2 separate regions of the Homo sapiens genome follow, and region 1 is linked to region 2. The links are contacts of gene promoters, found by promoter capture Hi-C in human tissues and cell types (Jung and others, 2019). All regions are on one chromosome and are shown on one strand. The core of a region is centred on a gene start or on the middle of the fragment in contact, and the rest is flanking DNA. Distances in the headings are between cores, read along the strand shown. Region 1 has its middle 20 kb from the start of RNF216. Region 2 holds the start of OCM (oncomodulin).

Evidence for each region. The method cuts DNA at HindIII sites, captures the fragments that hold promoters and counts their contacts. A contact is called where the count stands out against the background at its distance.
Region 1: a fragment that was not itself captured here is called in contact with the fragment with the promoter of OCM in region 2 in 2 of the 25 tissues and cell types used here (IMR-90 fibroblasts and stomach).

What each region holds. Positions count from the first base shown.
Region 1 is chr7:5,799,326-5,804,420 of GRCh38, reverse strand. No RefSeq gene overlaps it. Among named protein-coding and RNA genes, the nearest start is that of RNF216, 20 kb to the right of the region's middle. The HindIII fragment of the contact is 3,511 bases long and covers 1-3,309 here.
Region 2 is chr7:5,879,548-5,884,609 of GRCh38, reverse strand. OCM (oncomodulin) reads right to left here and starts at 3,812. Exons shown (of 4, transcript NM_001097622.2): 1 at 3,660-3,812; 2 at 1,985-2,117; 3 at 611-720. The coding sequence starts at 3,720. The HindIII fragment of the contact is 18,194 bases long and covers 711-5,062 here.

The DNA.
Region 1 (5,095 bases), core at 305-2,804, 78 kb after region 2:
CACTTTGGGAGGCCGAGGCGGACGGATCACCTGAGGTCAGGAGTTTGAGACCAGCCTGGCCAACATGGTGAAACCCCATCTCTACTAAACATACAAAAATTAGCTGGGCATGGTGGCAGGCGCCTGTAATCCCACTACTTGGGAGGCTGAGGCAGGAGAATTGCTTGAATCCGGAAGGCAGAGGTTGCAGTGAGCCGAGATCGCGCCATTGCACTCCAGCCTGGGGGATAAGAGTGAGACTTCGTCTCAAAAAAAAAAAAAATCCAGGACACTTGGCTGGGCGTGGTGACGCATACCCATAGTCCCAGCTCCTCAGAAGGCTGAGGCGGGAGGATCAATTGAGCCCAGGACGTTAGGGCTGCAGTGAGCTATGATGGCACCACTGCTCTCCAGCCTGGGTGACAGAGCGAGACTGTCTCAGTGGAAAAAAAAAATTAATGCTGTATGATTCCAACTATATTACATTCAGAAAAGGCCCAACTATGGAGACAGTAAAAGGATCCGTTGCTAGGGTCTGGAAACAAAAGGTTGCCAGGGACAACCTTTTGTCCCTGGGACGGATGCATGAAGGGAGGGATGCATGAAGAGGCAGAGCACGGAGGATTTTTCGGGCAGGGAAACGCCTCTGAGAGAGCTCTAAGAGTGGATGCATGTTCTGACACATTTATCCAAGCCCATGACATGCACCACACCAAGAGGGACCCTAATGCAAACTGTGGACTTTGGGTGAAAATGATGTCAATATAGGTTCCCTGATTGTAACAAATGTACCACTTTGGTGGAAGATGATAATGGGAGAGGCTATTAGCACGGGCAGGGAACATGTGAGAACTCTCTGTACCTTTCGCTCAATGTTGCTACGAATCTAAAACTGGCCTAAAAAAGTCAAGTCTATTAAAAAAAAAAAGACGCAGTGAGCATTGGGAAGAAAGGGACAGAGCACATGCCTTCCTCATGGAAATCATGCAAACATATATTAAAAAAAAAAGACACAGTGAGCATTGGGAAGAAAGGGACAGAGCACATGCCTTCCTCATGGAAATCATGCAAACATATATTAAAAAAAAAAAGACACAGTGAGCATTGGGAAGAAAGGGACAGAGCACATGCCTTCCTCATGGAAATCATGCAAACATATATTAAAAAAAAAAAGACGCAGTGAGCATTGGGAAGAAAGGGACAGAGCACATGCCTTCCTCATGGAAATCATGCAAACATATCTTCTGAAGAAGACCCCCCCTTTTTTTTTTTTTTTTTTGAGATGGAGTTTTGCTCTTTCACCCAGACTGGAGTGCAGTGGCATCATCTTGACTCACTGCAACCTTCAACCCCCAGGTTCAAGCTATTCTCCAGCCTCAGCCTCCCGAGTAGATGGGGTTATAGGCGCCCACCACTACGCCTGGCTAATTTTGATATTTTTTAGTAGAGACAGGGTTTCGCCACATTGGTCAGGCTGTTCTTGAACTCCTGACCTCAGGTGATCCCACCTGCCTCAGCCTCCCAAAGTGCTGGGATTACAAGCGTGAGCCACCGCAGCTGGCCAGACCCTACTTTTGAGTGGGGTCTTCTGCAGATGAGCCTGAGAAGGCCAGCAGGATTAGGTGACAAGGAAGAAGAGAGATCTTTGCATCTTCAGATGTAGGGGAGCACCGCCCATGGCAAATCTGAACATCAGCAGCTCCGGGCACCATAAAGTGGGCACAGGAAGATCAAAAGAGACTGAAGAATCTTTTTTTTTTTTTTTTTGAGATGGAGTCTAGTTCTGTCGCCCGGGCTGGAATAGAGTGACATGCTCTCAGCTCACTGCAACCTCCACCTCCCGAGTTCAAGCAATTCTCCTGTCTCAGCCTCCTGAACAGCTGGGATTACAGGCATGCATCACCACACCGGCTAATTTCTGTATTTTTAGTAGAGATGGGGTTTCACAATGTTGGCCAGGTTGGTCTCAAACTCCTGGCCTCAAGTGATCAGCCTGCCACAGCCTCCCAGAGTGCTGGGATTACAAGCTTGAGCGACCATGCCCAGCCCAAAAGAGGCTGAAGAATCTTAACTTCTAAATTTTATTGATTTAATTACTGTTTGAGTCAGGGTCTCACTCTGTCTCCCAGGCTAGAGTGCAGTGGTGCAATCATAGCTCACTGTAGCCTCCAACTCCTGACCTCAATCAATCCTCCTGCCTTAGCCTCCCAAAGTGCTGCACTTACAAGTGTGAACCACTGTGCCCAGCCCTTAATTTTTTAAAAAAGCTTATAAATCTCAGAAAATATTTCTTTCCGGCCAGGCGTGGTGGCTCACACTTGTAAGCCCAGTACTTTGGGAGGTGGAGGCGGGCGGATCACCAGAGGTCAGGAGTTCAAGACCGGCCTGGCCAACATGGCAAAACCCCGTCTCTACTAAAAACATACAAAAAAATTAGCCGGGCATGGTGGTGGGCACCTGTAATCCCAGCTACCTGGGAGGCTGAGGCACGAGAATCGCTTGAACCCGGGAGGCAGAGGTTGCAGTGAGCCAAGATCGCATCATTGCACTCCAGCCTGGGCAACAAGAGCGAAACTCCATCTCCAAAAAAAAAAAAAAAAAGGAAATTATTTATTTCCAACAGGAGAGAGCCTAGCACTTATAGCAAAGTGTTGAGCATGGATTCGATTACATAGCATTGGATCATGGCGGGTAACTACAAGAGAAGCAACTACAGGGTTGTGAGGGGATGAAAGAGCCAGAAGGAACCGATCTCAAGATGCGTATGAGAGCCTTAATCCACCGGGCACGGTGACTCATGGCTGTAATCCCAGTACTTTGGGTGGCTGCGGCAGACAGCTCACCTGAGGTCAGGAGTTCAAGATCAGCATGGCCAACATGGTAAAACCCCATCTCTACTAAAAACTACGTTGGGAGGCCAAAGCAGGCGGATCACAAGGTCACGAAATCAAGACCATCCTGGCCAACATGGTGAAACCCCATCTCTACTAAAAATACAAAAATTAGCTGGGCGTGGTAGCACACACTGTAGTCCCAGCTACTTGGGAGGCTAAGGAGGGAGAATCACTTGAACCCGGGAGGTGGAGGTTGCACTGAGCCGAGACGGCGCCACTGCACTCCAGCCTGGCAAAAAAACTACTCTATCTCAAAAACAAAACAAAACAAAACTACAAAAATTAGCTGGGCGTGGTGGCATGCACCTGTAATCCCAGCTACTCAGGAGGCTGAGGCAGGAGAATCGCTTGACCCCAGGAGCCGGAGGTTGCCGTGAGCTGAGATCACGCCACTACACTCCAGCCTGAGCAACAAGAGCGAAACTCTGTCTCCAAAAAAAAAAAAAAAAAAAAAAAAAAAGGAGCTTAAAACCAATAGCCAAGGGAGTTACAGTCACCAGATATTTAGTTCTCTATAGAAATTAAAGATAACATCTTGGGCCTGGTACGGTGGCACACACCTGTATCTCCATCACTTTAGGAGGCCGAGGCGAGCGGACCGCTTGAGCTCAGGGGTTTGAGACCAGCCTGGAAAACATAGCAAGACCCCTGCCTGCACTAAAAATACAAAAAATTAGCCAGGCGTGGTGGCACATGCATGTGGTCTCAGCTACTCGGGAGGCTGAAGTGGGACAATCACCTGAGTCCAGGAAGTGGAGGCTGCAGTGGGCAGATTGTGCCACTGCACTCCAGCAGCTGGGAGAAGAGAGTGAGACCCCATCCCCCAAAAAAAAAAAAAAAAAATCAATGAGAGGAAACAAGGACCGACTTTCATGGGGTCCAGATGCCTGGCACAGTGAGGCCAACCACCCACACCAAGGTTTGCAGTGAGAAAAAAGAGGGCATTTATTTGCAGGGCGCCACGCAAGGAGAGTCGAGCAGCTCATGTTTACATCCAGAACTCCCTGCTGGCTTGCAGGTAGGCGTCTTTAAAGGTAAGGAGGCAGAGGCAGGGCGCAGTGGCTCACGCCTGTAATCCCAGCACTCGAGGCGGGTGGATCACAAGGTCAGGAGATCAAGACCACAGTGAAACCCCGTATCTACTTAAAAAAAAAAAAAATACAAAAAATTAGCCAGGCATGGTGGCGTGCGCCTGTAGTACCAGCTACTCGGGAGGCTGAGGCAGGAGAATAGCGTGAATCCAGGAGGCGGAGCTTGCAGTGAGCCGAGATCACGCCACCGCACTCCAGTCTGGGTGATAGAGTAAAACTCTGTCTCAAAAAAAAAAAAAAAAAAAAAACAGAAGATAAGGAGGCAGAGGTTACGGCAAAGTCATAAATCAGTATGGAGGCTATACGTTGGTTTGGCCCTAAAAGGTGGGGTATCTTAAAGTGGGGGCTTACAGGTCATAGGTAGATTCAAAGATTTTTTTTTTTTCTAATTGGTTAAGGAAGAGAAGCTTTGTTTAAAAATGTGGAGTTGGCGGGCGCAATGGCTCACACCTGTAATCCCAGCACTTTACGAAGCCAAGGGGGGGCGCAGACCACCTGAGGTCAGGAGTTCAGGACCAGCCTGGCAACATGATAAAACCCCATCTCTACTAAAAGTACAAGAATTAGGTAGGATGCGGTGGCGGGTACCTGTAATCTCAGCTACTTGGGAGGCTGAGGCAGGAGAAAAGCTAGAACCTGGGAGGCAGAAGTTGCAGTGGGTCAAGATCACAGCACAGCACTCCAGCCTGGGCGACACAGCAAGACTCTGTCTCAAAAAAACAAAACAAAACAAAAGGACAGCACTCGGAGAGCTTCAATGCTGAACATGTGGAGATGCCGGGAGGGTGGTGTACCCAGAGAGGGCATGGAAGCTCCACCCCTTCCCACAAAACTTGCCCCTTCGGCCTCGGCATCTGGCCATTCCTCTGCATTTTTCGTAATGCCCCTTATAGTAAACTGGTAAACAGGCCGGCCATGGTGGCTCACGCCTATAATCCCAGCACGTTGGGAGGCTGAGGCGGGCGGATTACTTGAGGCCAGGAGTTCAAGACAAACCTGGCCAACATAGCAAAACCCCGTCTCTACTAAAAATACAAAAATTAGCCAGGCGTGGTAGCAGGTGCCTGTAATCCCAGCTACTTGGGAGGCTGAGGCAGGAGAATCGCTGGAGCCCAGGAGGTTGGTTGCAGT
Region 2 (5,062 bases), core at 2,563-5,062:
AGCAACATGACAAAATCAAGTGAAAATAGTCCTACAGCTGTGCTAGTGTATTCTAAAGCTCAAACCTAGGATTCGGCCTATGGAAGACTCAATAAATGAGGTTGGCTTATTTGTTCTCTGTTTAATATTATCCCCTTGGCGGGCTAATGTCCAATAAAATATATTTGTCTAAACCCTTGAAGACGAAGAGGGCTTCCTACGCATGCCAATGGACCCTGGTCTGAGGATGTAAATCTTTCCCTTATTCTGAGGGGTTCAAACCCCACTGGTAGAAATACCTCGCGCTTTATGCAGGTGCATTATGGTTGGCAGGTGCAAATAATTGGCCAGGTGGCTAGCTAGTCCCCTAGTCAGGTGAAGGATATTTTGCAGCTCATAGACAATGACCAGTGTGACCAGCTTCTATAGTACCTACCGAGCATTATGCCAGGGTTTTTACACACATCATTTGCATCCTTACTTTAGTCCCATTTTACAGATGAGAAGACTGAGGCTCGGTAAGTTTAAGAAAGGGAGATTTTAAGCCACATTGGTTTGATCTCACAGCCCAAGCCCTCACGGATGCTTCCTGAGCTAGAGTGTTTTATGCTACGTACACGTGTGGACATACCCTCTGCTCCAATTTTCCCATCTCCATCATTATCCGCCGCAGCCATCAAGGACTTGGTTTCTGACTCGGTCAGTTCTCTGGCACCACTCTCAAACTTCTGGAGGAAAAACCTACAGGATAATAAAGATCCATGGGGATTTTCAAAAAGATCATGCATCTCTGTGTTTACACTTTTGTTTTTCCTCTAAGCATATCACCTGTTTCCAGCACCGGCAATAATTAACCAAGGTCTTAGCAAGCAAAGGTTTCCTTAAGCTGTAGAAACCAATGGTGGGCACTTCATTTTTAAGGTTTTGTTTGTTTGTTTGTTTTTGAGACAGGGTCTTGCTCTGTCACCCAGGCTGGAATGCAGTGATACCATCATGGCTCACTGCAGCCTCGACTTCCTGGGCTCAATCAATCCTCCTGCCTCAACCTCCTGAGTAGCTGGGACTACAGGTGCACCCCACCATGCCCCACTAACATTTGTATTTTTTTTTGTAGAGACAAGGTTTTGTCATGTTCCCCAGACTGGTCTGGAACCCCTGGGCTCACTCAAGCAATCCACCCACCTCAGCCTCCCAAAGGGCTGGGATTGTAGGTGTGAGCCACAGTGCCTGGCCCATTTTTAAGTTTTTAGTGTTTTTAATTTTTATTTATTTATTTATTTGAGACAGAGTCTCTCTCTGTCACCCAGGCTGGAGTGCAGCTGCACGATCTGGGCTCACTGCAACCTCTGCCTCCTGACTTCAAGCAATTCTTGTGCTTCAGTCTTCTGAGTAGCTGGAATTACAGGCGTGAGCCACTGCGCTTAGCCAAGTTTTTAGTTTTTTAAAGTCCATTTGCCAAAGGAAATCCCTTACATGAAAGAATCTTTGTGGCTGGGCACAGTGACTCACACCTGTAATCCCAGCACTTTGGGAGGCCAAGGCAGGAGGATCACTTGAAGTCAGGAGTTTGAGACCAGCCTGGCAACATAGTGAAGCCCCATCTCTACTCTAAATATGAAAATGAGCTGGATGTGGTGGCAGGCACCTGTAATCCCAGCCACTTGGGAGACTGAGGCATGAGAATCACTTGAATTTGGAAGGCGGAGGCTGCAGGGAGCTGAGATCACCCCACTGCACTCCAGCCTGGGCAACAGAGTGAGGCCCTGTCTCAAAAAAAAAAAAAAAAAAAAGAATCTTTGCACCTGCAGTCTTCTCTGCCCATATTGAGGGCTTTGCATGGGTAGATGTGCGGTCAACTGACTCATGTCCTTTGCTTTAATGATGCTTGGCCGAATGACCAACACCAAGGCTGGCCATTGAAGAAATACTGAGCAACCTGGCCCCCACTGCACCCCAGGCCCACTCAGCAGTGCCGGGTACCAGACAGACTCAGGACAAAGCTTACTTAAGCTCTTCTTCATCCAGGTACCCGCTCTGGTCGTTGTCTATGAACCGGAAAACATCCTTCACCTGATTGGCTGACATCTTGGAGAGGCCTGATGTCTGGAAGAATTTTTGGGGTTCAAAAGTGTCTGGGTCTGAAGAACAGAGAATTGGTTATTCTGACGCTTGTTGGATCACATTCTATGTTGGGGCCAAGGTACTAAAAACACAGATAATTAAAAACACTTCAACAATATCCCTGAGCTACGGGGATGCTCAACTGGTCCAAGATTTTGGGACAGCCAAGACTTGATGGCTCTGTGATGGCATCCCATGTCCCCTCCGCCCCAGTCTTCCCTCCTCCACTTGGTTTTGTCCATTTTCCTTTTCCCTCCTCATCTCTTCTGTGCCTCCCCCTCCCCCTGGCCCACTTTACAGGCTGTGTGGCTGAGCCCCCAGCATCCCTGGTCTAATTGGTAGGGGGAAATGCAATCACTGGATTTCAACAGGCTAAATGGCCTTTGGCGCTTTTTTTTTTTTTTTTTTTTTTTTTTTTTTTTTTGAGACAGAGTCTCACTCTGTCACCAGGCTGGAGTGCAGTGGCGTGATCTCGGCTCACTGCAACCTCTGCCTCCCGGGTTCAACTGATTCTCCTGCTTCAGCCTCCCAAGTAGCTGAGATTACAGGTGTGCACCCCCATGCCCAGCTCATTTTTGTATTTTTAATAGAGACAGGGTTTTGCCATGCTGGCCAGGTTGGTCTTGAACTCCTGACCTCAAGTGATGCACCGGCCTCGGCCTCCCAAAGTGTTGGGATTACAGGTGTGAGCACGACACCTGGCCTTTCAGTGATGTCTTGCTTTCATGTTTAGTAGGTTTCTTTTGTCTTACAGATGTGTAATCGTGTGCTCAGATCCCAGATCTCTATAATTTTAGTTATCTAATAAATAGCAGTTTTCTTCTCTGATTCCATGAATTTTCCAGCCAACCTCTTATTTATTTATTTATTTATTTATTTAGAGCCAGAGTCTCACTCTGTCGTCCAAGCTGGAGTGCAGTGTAGCGATCATAGCTCACCACAGCCTCAACCTCCTGGGCTTCAGTGATCCTCCTACCTTAGTTTCCAGAGTAGCTGGGACCACAGGCACATGCCACCATGCCCCGCTAGTTTTTATTTTTATTGTTATGTTGTAGAGATGGAGTCTTCCTATGTTGCCCAGGCTGGTCTCAAACTCCTGGGCTCAAACAGTCCTCTCACCTTGGCCTCCAAAAAGTGTTGGGATTACAGATGTGAGCCACCATGCCTGGTCTACTTTTTTTTTTTTTTTTTGTAGACAGAGTCTTGCTCTGTTGCCCAGGCTGGAGTGCAGTGGCATGATCTCAGCTCACTGCAACTTCTGCCTCCCGGGTTCAAGCAATTCTCTGCCTCAGCCTCCCGAGTAGCTGGGATTACAGGCACCCACCACCACGCCCGGTTAATTTTTTTGTATTTTTAGTAGAGATGGGGTTTCACCATCTTGGCCAGGCTGGTCTCGAACTCCTGACCTCGTGATCCACCCGCCTCGGCCTCCCAAAGTGCTGGGATTACAGGTGTGAGCCACTGCGTCTGGCCGCCTGGCCTACATTTTGATTTTGTGTTGACTCGCTGGAGGTGCAAAGCTGTGAGGAAATCCCACCCCCGCCTCACGTCCCCTCTACCTCGGCATTCCTGGAGCGCTGCTGCAATGTCGTCAGCACTGAGCACGTCCGTGATGCTCATTTTCTACCTACTCACACAGAATAAATGAGAGGCGATAAGCCACAAACAGGAATGTGCACATCCAGGGGAAACACATCTTCCCAGGCCCACTGAAACTGTATGTGTGTCTAGATTATTTTTTTTTTTAAATTAAGACGGAGTCTCACTCTGTCACCCAGGCTGGAGTGCAAGAGCGTGATCTCGGCTCACCGCAACCTCCGCCTCCTGGGCTCAAGTGATTCTCCTGCCTAAGCCTTCCCAGTAGCTGGGATTACAGGTGCGCACTACCATGCCTGGCTAATTTTTGTGTTTTTAGTAGAGACGGGGTTTTGCCATGTTGGCCAGGCTGGTCTTGAGCTCCTGACCTCAGGTGATCTGCCTGCCTTGGCCTCACAAAGTGCTGGGATGACAGATGCAAGCCACCGAGCCAGGCCTGTCTAGAATTTTTAAAATGTGATAAGCATGGTTTTGTATTAAGTGACGGGACAGAATATCCAAATTAAAACCAGATACGGAAAACACCCCAGCCTTTTTTGTCTCAGAGCCTTCTTTTGAATACATGCCAAAAATGGAAAAAAAAAATGACCCAAAGAAGGATTCAATTGTTTTCTTATAAAAATTATACTGACATAATCAGTCATTTGCATAGGCAGCCGTAAACCATGTTACACATGCACTGGCATTTTCCTACAGCAGCCCGAGAGATGCAATGTTGCAAATTCCACGTGGGAAAGGATACAGTTTGGGCTGCTTGCAGACATTCTGTGGAAGAAGGCATGCACCTGTCCTGAAAGGTGGGAAGCAGATGGATGAAAAGCCCATCTCCCAGAGATTAAAATCCTTCCAGGTGTCAGAGCCACCGGAAAACAGGAGTCTAAGCACCTGAGCCTAATATGAATGCATGCAGTGAAGAAAAGAGTCTGGGGTCTGATGTGTCCACCAGTTACTCACCGTTTTCGGTTTCCCCCCAGGAAGAATCAGGAAAAAGAGTTGAAGGAGCAAAACAACAGATGTGTTTTTGCTACCTTACTGACCTACCTTATATAGGCTAGAAAAAGTGATAGTTACAACCTCTTAGATTTCCTTTTCAAGGATCAAGTGGATGCAGCTCAAATGTCTTGTCTTACTCATGAAACCTCTTTTTTTTTTTTTTTCTATTTATGTCTCAAGGGAATGTGGGTGGGAACAGCCAATTGTAAAAAAAAAAAAAAAACAACAACAAACTTCAACAAACCTTAACTAAGATTTCAATTCTGCAAACGAACCCTGTTGGCAAAGTGTGGAGAAGGTTCTAGATGCCTGGTAAGGTGGAGATGGTGGCCTGAACTAAGACAAACACATACAGGGTGCTCTGTAAGCTGAA